Linked DNA regions of Homo sapiens: region 2 is linked to region 1. The links are contacts of gene promoters, found by promoter capture Hi-C in blood cells and fetal thymus (Javierre and others, 2016). All regions are on one chromosome and are shown on one strand. Each heading gives the region's core, a stretch centred on a gene start or on the middle of the fragment in contact. The rest is flanking DNA. Distances are from core to core; before and after follow the strand shown.

Region 1 (5,840 bases), core at 3,341-5,840:
CTCCTATCCAAACACATATGCTGAAGACATAACCCCCAGTGTGACTATATTTTAAGAGAGTGTCTTTAGGAGGAACCTAAGGTTAAATAAGGTCATAAGGGTAAGGCCTTAATCTCATAAGACTGGTATACATATAAAAAGAGGGAAAGATACCCTCTCTGCACATACACAGAGAAAATGTCATGTGAGGACACAGTGAGAAGGCAGTAGTCGGCTCCAGGAAGAGAGACCTCATTGAACACTAACCTGGCTAGCACCTTGATCTTAGGCTTTGAGCCTCCAGAATGATGAAAAATAAATTTCTGTTGTTTAAGCCACCCAGCCTATGTTATTTCATTATGGTAGCTTGAGAAGCCTAATATAAGTCGCACTGGGGATGGACTGGAGAAATACTTACCATTTACTCTAGTCTTGGTGTTGAAGAGGGCTTCTTTTTAAGGATGAGTTCTCCCATTATTGGGTCCTCTGTCAGAAAACTGGCTTGGGCCAAACTAGATTAGGGTAATAGTTTATACGTTTTGAGTACATGGTTGCCCTTAGCCTACTAGTAATCCACCCTTGATTTCTTTCCCGTTGTACATGTCCAGCAAAGTCAGTGGTATACAGCTGACTGTTAAATTTTCAAGGGTTCTCGAGCCAATTGTTAAACATCATTATTTTTAAAAATTATCTAAAGTAACTTTTGCACCAACAGTAAGGTGCATAAATGTGCTTTGGTCAAGAAGTAGGCTGAGGCAGACATCCAGGCCATAGTGACTTAATGAGTTTGGAGTGCAGGCATATAACTCCACTTGTTATATAACCTGTTTGTGTAAGCTCATACTTGGCTCAAATCCACTATTGTTTGGAAAAGGTATAACTGCCCTGCTGATGCTGTACAGGCGCTCTTGGGCTTGCCTTGGCTCAGCATGGCGTGGCATGGCATGACATGGCTCGCACTGGTGCCCAGAAAGAGAGTAGCACTATTGACCCTTGTAAGGGAGAGCCAGTCGCCTTGAAGGCAGGCAGAGGGGAACCAGGAACGAGCTTGTGCCCAGAGGGAAAGAGTTAAGCTGCTAATCCTGACAGAGCTGGCCTTGCAGGCCAGGGCGTGCTGCTGCAGGCGTGGCGGCGGCAGGAGTCCCAGAGCCAGAGCAGACAGCGGAGATAAAGGCAGACAGTGTGAGAGAGTCGCTGTTGGTAAATAAAACTACATTTCACCTGCTTAGGGCCCCCAAGTGTTCTTTCAGCTATCGCCCATCCACCCACTCCCCTCAGACCTCAGCATGGGCTGGAACCTAACCTGGGTCATGACATTTGGAGTCATTGTGGCCCTAATGCCAAGCTAATAAAATAAATACTTAGAACTCATCAATTTGTGATGATTTTTAGAAGATTTTGCTATTATCCATGCATGAAATTATTAACATCTGTTACATCCGTATAGTGAAAATAATACGTAATGCTGTACTACTGCATATTTATTTCCAACTCTGTGTGTTCAGTGATGTCACCTGGGTACCTTGAAATCAGCAATGGTGGGAATAATTACATCACGGAAATCAGCTGGTGTTACAAACCAGAGCTTGTTATGTGTGTGTTTTTCTCTGTTCCACCAGTTGTTAAAGGACAGCACAGAAGTGGAAGCACCCTTTTTGGCTCTCTATATTACTTCTGTGAACATTGAGCTCTATCTGACATTGCTATGGCTCTATATGTCAGTAATCCTGGCTGCTATTGCAATTTGACCCTCATTACTATAATTGGCCCCAGCTTGTTTCAGAGTGGCACTCTGACACTTGGCGTTTCCTACTTCAAACCCTGTCCCAATACTCTCTCTGAATTCAGTTCTGTGGGAACATCTCCCACTGTAATCTTTGGCATGTAGAGAAGAACTATGCTAAGCTTCTCAGTGATGTTTATGTAGGACTTAAGTTCTTCCACCAGCGCCTTCCTTACTGCTTTGGTAAATAAGGTGCCCATTATATCATCCCATAGAACATAGTCAGTTGGTGGGTTTCCTGTCCTTATCTAGTTTATCCACTGTAGCATGCCCACTTCTCTAAGCATTTTTATCTTTTCTTCAGCTACCTGCCATGGGAATTCTGGAATGTTACTCTACTCAGCGTGAGCCATTGCTTTCTCCAATCTTCTTGGAGTTATTTCAGCAGTATGTCAGCACTGTTCACAGTATTTTTCCAAGTTATTAAATTCTGTATTGCAACTGAATGCCCTAATGTTGATAAAATCTCCCTTATCCAGCTTTATGTTTCTCTCATGATCTAGCACCCTCAGAATCCAATCCCATTGTGTACACTCCAAGCTGTTGTTATTATATATTGGTTAGGTCCAAATTCATTCTGAGTATAGCCCTTTCTCTCCCTTATAAGCTTAGCACATAACCTTAGTTATTGGCCTTATGACCAATAACTAAGAAAGGCAAGTAAGGGAGGGATTCCTGTAAGGAGGGTGTGAAGGGCACAATATTTTCTTTAAGGAAAAAGGCATGACCTCGACAAGGGAGAACATGTAACTTTGTTAGGATTAGAGAGTCCAACGTTTAGAAGCTTCTAGATTTTTAAAATTTTTGAGAAAAAAAATTGTGAAAAGTCACTATACAAATGATGGAAAGTATTTTTAATACATTTATCTAAAAATGGAATTTTTCTATATTATGTTGCAACCCATTTTACTTATTTATATACACATTTTTATGTGTATGTTTCTCTACATATATATTTACATATATATAAAATCTTAAAAATCACCATAAGGAAACAAATAAATCCATAAAAATGGGAAAAATATTTAAATAGGTCATTGAAAAAAGATATATGAGTTACCAATACGCACGTGAGTAAATGCTCAATATAACATCAGAGATGTACAAATTAAAATCACATTTAGATTCTACTACACGCCTACTAGAATGGTTAAATTGAAAAAGATTGGGCATATCTAATATTGCTATTTATGTGGAGCAAATAGAACCATCCAATATTCATGTTGGGAATGGCACAACTTTTTGGAAAAAAATACATTTATAAAATAAAACATACATTTTCTATGTAACCTAGCAGTTTCACATCCAGGTATTTCTTCAAAAGATTAAAAAACGTGTCAATAGAAAAACTTTTGCATAAATGTTTATTTTGACCTTATGATATCCAAGAAGTGGAAAAAGCTCAATGTCATAATGGATACATTTTATTATAAAATAGATAAAAATATTTTATGTCTGTACAATGAAATACTACTCAGTAATAAAAAGAAATTAACTGCTGATCTGTGCAAAAACATGGATAAAACTCAAAAACATTATGCTCAGTGAAAGACATCAGACTTACAAGAATTGCCAACTGTATCATTCTGCTTAACAGGAATTTCTAAAACCAGCAAAGCTCATGTTTATTGACAGTAAGTTGGCTGCTGCCTGGCTTCAGGGGTGAGGATGAACTGCAAAGCAACAGCGGGGAACATTTCCCTGTGTTGAAAATGTTTTATATCTTAACTGTTGTATCTTGACTGTTTTCCTTTTTGGAACAAAACTAAATTTCACTCAACCATACTTGAGTAATCTCTATATTTTTCTATACATGCTTTTCTAATAGTTCTTTGGATACAATCTTTTGTTAACAACAAAGGTAGAATATATTCATTTCCTCATGAATTTTCTGTCTTTTTTTTCTGTCCAAAAATGAAAAGAGCAATTTTGTTATCTGTCCTTTCCTTCTGCCCAGAAATGATTAAACCTGTATTTCTTATTCTCTTCATATTTTCTTTGTTTTAATTCCTTTGTACTACAGTTTCTTCTCTATTCTCATTTGCTTTTCCTCTTCAAGTTTCTCTCTCAGAACAAATGCAGTGTTAATCCCGAAGCCGCTTGCGGGACACTGGCTTCTTCTCCTCAGTTTCCTCCCTAATATATTTGTTGAGGGGTAATACAAAATCACTGGGAAACTGATTAGAGCAGATTTGAAGACAAAATTGTGGCCTGGTAACTTAGCAAAAGCATAATGGTGTCATCTTGTATGCTGATGATAACGTTCTGGGCACTTTGTTACTTTCGTTTTCTTTTTTCCCTCTGTGTGTCTTTGTGTGTGTTTGTGTGTGTGCTCACACCCACACGTGTGACTTTGCACGCATTTGTCTTTGAGAGAGAGATAATAGTTTTTGTTTTTCTTTCAGTAGCCAAAGTTTAAACCATTGCTTTTTCTTTGATTCTATCGCTTTTAAGGTGATCTTTCTTAACACAGGATAAGAAAGCAGTAATGTCCTAAAGAATGCTGTTGAATTAATTAGTATCAGCCTCTCCTACAGTTCTGGAAGGATACGTGGTTAAGTACCACTCCTGGATGAATCAGAAAAACAGCCACTTGAGCAATTTCGTGTTCTGTGGTTCAGATGAGAATCCCAGTTGAGAAAGTAAGAAAATATGTGTTTATTCTTCAGCTTTAAATTGTTATATCACAAACTTCCTTCCTCCTTGGCAAGCTTTCTTTTTTGACGAGAAGAAAATTGTAATAAACAACAGTATGACTAATAGATAGTCACATGGTTACTTCCAGTTTGCAAAATGCTATTTATACTTTGAGTTACTCTTCAAAAGTGGTATACCTCTAGTTTGGAGCTGTGCTGTAAAAACAAGAGTAACATTTTTATATTAAAGTTAAATAAAGTTACAACTTTGAAGAGAGTTTCTGCAAGACATGACACAAAGCTGCTAGCAGAAAATCAAAACGCTGATTAAAAGAAGCACGGTAAGAACATTTTTGTTTGTTTAGAATGACCGTTATTTATTGAAATTGTGATGCAGAATGTTAAAGCCTTCGAGAAAAGAATTAAATTTTGTGGTTTCTTTTGTGAAACTAGAAAATTCCTTCTTATAACAAGATTGAGATTTGCATATGACTGTTTTGTCCTAATAAATTCAGACTTACTTTACATTATTTGAATTACAATGGAGAAGGATTAACCATGACTTAAAACTGCTCAAGATTTAGTTTCATTTTTACTAAGTATTTTATAAAACAAATACTTGAGAAGATGATAGATATGATCCAGATACTCATACAGTTCTCAGAATGCATACATAATATGATAAATTTAGCCAATAGTTCTAATATTTTTAAAGATTGCTTTATTGGATGGTGTAAAGATACTCCGGGCTTTAGGAGTACTTAACGGAAAGAATATATCCCTTTCCTACTCTTACTAAGGAATTGCTAGTACTCCGATATCCATGGAGATGTCTTTACCAACCCTAAGAAGGATAAGGAAAGAAAATGTTCTAAAAAATACACTATGAAACAACCTGGTAACATTGGATTTATTAAATAGCAAGTTCGGAATATATAAGATCCAAGCTACATCTTTGAGATTTCAACAGGGTTTATTTATGTCAAAATATTTGAAAGAGAAAAGGCTGAAACTAAATGCATTCAATACAACGATCTATGATTTAGAGATTTAGGGACTGTGATGAGCTTTAAGCATTTCCCGTTTAACTAAATGTCAACCTACCAGCGTATGCTACGGTCAAAAAAATTATTGCTGTGGTACAATAGAATGCACACTTTATCCTTCCTCCCGTATTTTAACCGGTTTTATAATTCTGCCTAAAGTTAGATAAAACAGGTTTGCGGGGAATGAGATCAATATTTGATGGTAGCATAAAATATCATTTTAATCAAAAGTTTTAAGAAGGCCTTCCAGCCACTAGTAAAACCAGTGTTATTTTCTACTTTCAATCAATTGTATAAATTTATACATTTGTATATAAATACATTATATAATACAATATTATATATCATATTACATATGAATATATTTTAAAAGTTACTGAATAATATATTCAGTAT
Region 2 (5,840 bases), core at 1,835-4,334, 280 kb before region 1:
GCGCAAAGAGAACAGCAGGGTCGACTTTCCCTTCGGAGTGGGGCACTTCTGTTCCGCAGGACCTCCTGCCCTCCAGCCCCTCTCAAGTCCTCTGCCTGGCCGCTCTAGGAGCCTGTCAACGGTGCAGACTCCACTGCCCATCCTGGGTGCTTTGCAGGCCGACATGCCTGACTGAGTTCTTTCCCAGCCGCTTGGGAGCAGTTCCGAGGCCCCGTCGCAGCCCGTGCCGGAACCTGGGGTGCAGGATGGCGGATGTGCTGGCTGGGGCCAAAGCCCTGGGCTGCGGCGTGCAGCGCCGCAGTGCGGGACCCAGATTCATGGCCTGCGCTCCAGCGGGCAAGGAGTCCCGAGTCTCAGAAAACCGAGGGAGTGATATGCCCAGATTAGGGGCAGGCGCGGAAGGTCTGCCAGCCATGGGTGTCCGCCTGAGGGAGCTGCCCAGCCCGGACAGCCTAGCAAAGGAAATGCGGGAATGACGATAGTGACTGGAGAGGACTCTCCGAAGGCTTGAGAGCGGAGCTGGTGGGGTCAGCTCCCCGCGCTGGGCCACACCACAGGACGTTGTTGCGAGCTCGCTGAAACGTAAAAACCCGCAGCGCTGGCCGTTACTCTTATGCGCCATCTGCTGGATGATAGCCCAAATTACACCAAAAATATTCTGCCAATATATTAAATATTGGTCTGTGAAACTCAGGGCAAGAATCCAGCCACAAAGATCTTGTACAGAGCCTTGGCCCTCTGACAGCACTCATAAATGAAGCAAATGACTATATTCAACTTACACCACAGTTAAAGGAATACCAGCCCTCTCAGAAGAGAAAGAATTTTGCCAATTAAAAAGTAAGAGTGTCCCCTTACCTCCAAATGAGCACACTAGCTCCCCAGCAATGGCTCTTAACCAGAATGAAATGACAGACACAGAAATGAGAACCTAGATGGAAAGAAAGCTCACTGAGACTCAGGAGGCTGTTGAAACGCAATCCAAGGAATCCAGTAAAATGATCCAAGAGCTGAAAGATAAAAGACTTTTATTTATTTATTTATTTATTTATTTTTGAGATGGAGTCTTGCTCTGTCACCCAGGCTGGAGTACAGTGGCACGATCTCAGCTCACTGCGACCTACACCTACCAGGTTAAAGCGATTCTCCTGCTTCAGCCTCCCAAGTAGCTAGGATTACAGGCGAACACAACCAGGCCTGGCTAATTGTTTGTATTTTTTGGTAGAGACAGGGTTTCGCCATGTTGGCCAGGCTGGTCTTGAACTCCTGACCTCAAGCGATCCACCTGCCTTGGCCTTCCAAAGTGCTGTGATTACAGGCGTGAACCACCACACCCAGCCTGAAAAAAATAATTTTAAGAACGAACCATACTGAACTTCTGGAATTGACACATTTACTACAAGAATTTCATAATACATTTGGAAGCATTAATAGCAGAATAGACCAAGCTGTGAAGAAATTCAAAGACTGGTTCTTTGAATCAACTCAGTCAGACAAAAATAAAGAAGAAATAATTTTAAAAAAATGGACAAAAGCCCTGAGAAATATGGAATTATATAGAGAGACCAAACCTATAACTCATTGGTATTCCTGAGAGAGGAGAGAGAGTAAGCTATTTGGAAAATATATTTGAGGATACGATCCATGACAATCTCTCCACTCCCACTAGAGATGTTAACATACAAATTTAAGAAATATAAGGCCTGGCGTGTTGTCTCATGCCTGAATCCCAGCATTTGGGAGGCCAAGGTGGGTAGATCACTTGAGGTCAGGAGCTCAAGACCAGCCTGGCCAACATGGCAAACCCGTCTGTACTAAAAATACAAAAATTAGCTGGACATGGTGGTGCATGCCTGTAATCCCAGCTACTTGGGAGGCTGAGGCAGGAGAATCGCTTGAACCTGGGAGGCAGAGGTTGCAGTGAGCCAAGATCGTGCCATTGCCCTCCAGCCTGGGCAACAAGAGTGAAACTCCATCTCAAAAAAAAAAAAAAAAGAAGTACAGATAACCCCCATGAGATACTAGACACAACAAGCATTCCCAAGGCACATAGTTATCAGATTCATCAAGGTTAATGCAAAAGAAAAAATGTAAAGGCATCTAGAGAGAAGGGTCAGGTCGTTTACAAAATGAGGACCATCAGGCTAGTAGCAGACCTCTAAGCAAAAGCCTTATGAGTCAGAAGAGATTGGGGCCTATTTTCAGTGTTCTTAAAGAGAAGGAATTCCAACCAAAAAATTTATGTCCTGATAAACTAAGCTTGACTGGTGAAGGGGAAATAAATTTCTCAGACAAGCAAATGCTTAAGGGAATTTGTTACCACTAGACTAGCCTTACAAGACGTCTTTATAGGAGTGCTGTAAAGATGGAAATGAAAGAATGATACCTGCTATCACAAAAATGCATTTAACCACATAGCCCACCAACAATATAAAGCAACTATGCAATAGAAACTACAAAGTCACCAGCTAAGAACATGATGACAGGATCAATGTCACATATCAGTACTAACTCTAGGCCAGGCACAGTGGCTCATGCCTGCAATCGCAGCACTTTGGGAGGTCGAGGTGGGCGGATCACTTCAGGTCAGGAGTTCACAACCAGCCTGGCCAACATGGTGAAACCCCATCTCTACTAAAAAATACAAAAATTAGCTGAGCATGGTGGTGTCTGCCTGCAGTCCCAGCTTCTCAGGAGGCTGAGGCAGGAGAATCACTTGAACCCAGGAGGCAGAGGTTGCAGTGAGCCAAGATCGTGCCACTGCATTCCAGCCTGGGTGACAGAACAAGATTCTGTCTCAAAAAAAAAAAAAATTATTCTGGTGTGGTGGTGCATGCCTGTAATCCCAGCTACTCGGGGGGCTGAGGCATGAGAATCTCTTGAACCCAGGAGGTGGAGGTCACAGTGAGCTGAGATCGTGCCACTGCACTCCAGCCTGGGTGACACAGTGAGACTCTGTCTCAAAAAAATGAAATAAAATAAAAAATAAAAATACAATCAAACAGGAACTGAATGAAATTGAGTTGCAAAACACCATATGAAAGATCAATGAAACCAAGAACTGGTTCTTTGAAAGAATAATCATGATTGATAGGCCATAAGGTAGGTTAATAAAAAAAAGAAATAAGCACAATCAGAAATTACAAAGATGAGATTACAACAAATTCCTCAGAAATACAAAGGATCCTAAGAGACCATTATGAAAATCTCTATGCAAATTAAAAATCTAGAGGAAATGGATAAATTCCTGGAAACATATAACTTCCCAAGATTGAACCAGGAAGAAAGCAAAAACCTGAACAGACCAATAACAAATTCCAAAATTGAAACAATAATAAGAAATCTACCAACCAACAAAAGTCTTGAACAAGATGGCTTCAGAGCTGAATTATAGCAGATGGACAAAGAAGAAGTAGTACAAATTCTACTGAAATTATTACAAAAAATTGAGGAGAGGGCTCCTCCCTAACTCATTCTATGAAGCCAGTATCATTCGGACAGAACAAAAAAGAAAACTTGAGGCCAACATCCTCAATAAACATAGATGCAAAAATCCTCAGCAAAATACCAGCAAACCAAATCCAGTAGCAGATCAAAAAGTTAATTCACCACAATCAGTTGGGTGCAGTGGCTCATGCCTGTAATTCCAGCACTTTGGGAGTCTGAAACAGGAGTACTGCTTGAGCTCAGGAGCTCGAGACTAGCCTGGGCAACATAGCGAGGCCTGTCTCTAAAAAGAATAAAAATTAATAATACAAAAAAAAGTTAATTAACCACAATGAAGTAGGCTATATCTATGATTCAAGGTTGGTTTGACATATGCAAATCAATATATGTGACTCACCACATAAACAGAATTTAAAATAAAAATTATATGATCCCATCTCAACAGACATGGAAAAAGCTTTCAGTAAAATCCAACCTCTTCTTATGGTTAAAAAAAAAAACCTCAACAAACTAGGCATTAAAGAAAGATAACCTCAAAATAATAAGAGTCGTCTAAGACAAACCCACAGACAACATTATATTGAATGGGCAAAAGCTGGAAAAATTTCCCTTGAGAACTGGAACAAGATAAGGATGTCCACTTTCACCACTCCTATTCAACATAGTACCAAAAATCCTAGCCAGAGCAATCAGGCAAGAGAAAGACTTAAAAGGTATCCAAATAGGAAAAGAAGTCAGACTATCTCCCTTCACTGACAACATGATTCTATACCTAGAAAACTCTAAAGACTTCGCCAGTATGCTCCTAAAACTGATAAATGATGTTAACAAAATTTCAGGATACAAAATCAATGTACACAACTTAGTAGCATTTCTAAACACCAGTAACATTCTAGCTGACAGCCAAGTTAAGAGCATAATCCCACTTATAATAACCACTAATAAAATGATTATTGGGAGTACCACTAAACAAGGAGGTGAAAGATCTCTGCAAGGAGAACTGCAAAACACTGCTGAAAGAAATCAGAGCCAATACAAATAAATGGAAAAACATGTCATGCCCATGGATTGGAAGAATCAATATTGTTAAAATGGCATACTGCCCAAAGCAATGTACAGATTCAATGCTATTACCATCAAATTACAAGTATCATTTTTCACAGAATTAGAAAAAACAATCCTGAGATTCATACAGAACCAAAACAGAGCCTGAATAGTCAAAACAATCCAAAGCAAAAAGAGCAAAACTGGAGGCATCATGTTACCCAACTTCAAACTATACTATAAGGCTACAATAACCCAAAGAGCATGATAGTAGTACAAAAACAGACACATAGACTGAGGGAACAGAATAGAGAACCCAGAAATAAAGTTGCACACCTACAATTATCTGGTCTTTGACAAAGTTGACAAAAACGACCAATAGGAAAGGACTCCCTGTTCAGTAAAAGTGCTGGAATATACTGGCTAGCCATATGCAGAAGATTGAAACTGGTGAAACCCTACCTTTCATCACACATAAAAATTGATTCAAAATGGATTAAAGACTTAAGACCTCAAACTATAAAATTCTAGAAATAAATCGAGGAAATACCCTACTCAACATCAGCTAAGGCAGATAATTTATGGCTAAATCTTTAAAAGCAATTGCAACAAAAACAGTAATCAACAATAGGACCTAATTAAACTAAAGAGGTTTGCATAGCAAAAGAAACTATCAACAGAGAAATTAGACAATCTACAGAATACGAGAAAATGTTAGTAAAGTATGCATCTGACAAAGGTGTAATAATCCAGAATCTATAAGAAATTTAGGCCAGGTGTGGTGGCTCACACCTGTAATCCCAGCAATTTGGGAGGCCAAGGTGGGTGGATCACCTGAGGTCAGAAGTTCGAGACCAACCTGGCCAACATGGTGAAACCCCATCTCTACTAAAAATACAAAAGTTAGCCAGGTGTGGTAGCACGCACCTGTAGTCCCAGCTACTCAGGAGGCTGAGGCAGGAGAATCACTTGAACCTGGGAGGTAGAGACTGCAGTGAGCTGAGATTGCACCATTGCACTCCAGCCTGGGCAACAAAAGCGAAACCCCATCTCAAAAAAAAAAAAAAAAAAAAAAAGAAGCAGCAGCAGCAGCTTAAACAAATCAGCAAGCAATAAACAAATAACCCCATTAAAAAGAGGCAAAGGACATGAACAGACACTTCACAGAAGAGGACATACAAGCGGCCTACAAACATATGAAAAAATGATCATCATCACTAATCATTAGAGAAATGCAAATTAAAACCACAATGAGACACCATCTCTCACCAGTCAGAATGGCTATTATTAGTCATAAAACAACAGATGGTGGCAAGGCTGCAGAGAAAAGAGAATGCTTATACCCTGTT

What was found. The method cuts DNA at HindIII sites, captures the fragments that hold promoters and counts their contacts. A CHiCAGO score of 5 or more calls a contact.
Region 2: a fragment that was not itself captured here is called in contact with the fragment with the promoter of CLEC2B in region 1 in 1 of 17 cell types (monocytes); the score reaches 5.5 in monocytes.

The regions. Positions count from the first base shown.
Region 1 is chr12:9,868,104-9,873,943 of GRCh38, reverse strand. CLEC2B (C-type lectin domain family 2 member B) reads left to right here and starts at 4,590. Exons shown (of 5, transcript NM_005127.3): 1 at 4,590-4,739. The HindIII fragment of the contact is 5,556 bases long and covers 4,476-5,840 here.
Region 2 is chr12:10,148,184-10,154,023 of GRCh38, reverse strand. No RefSeq gene overlaps it. Among named protein-coding and RNA genes, the nearest start is that of CLEC7A, 21 kb to the right of the region's middle. RefSeq lists enhancers at 91-280, 291-380, 235-738. The HindIII fragment of the contact is 1,645 bases long and covers 2,262-3,906 here.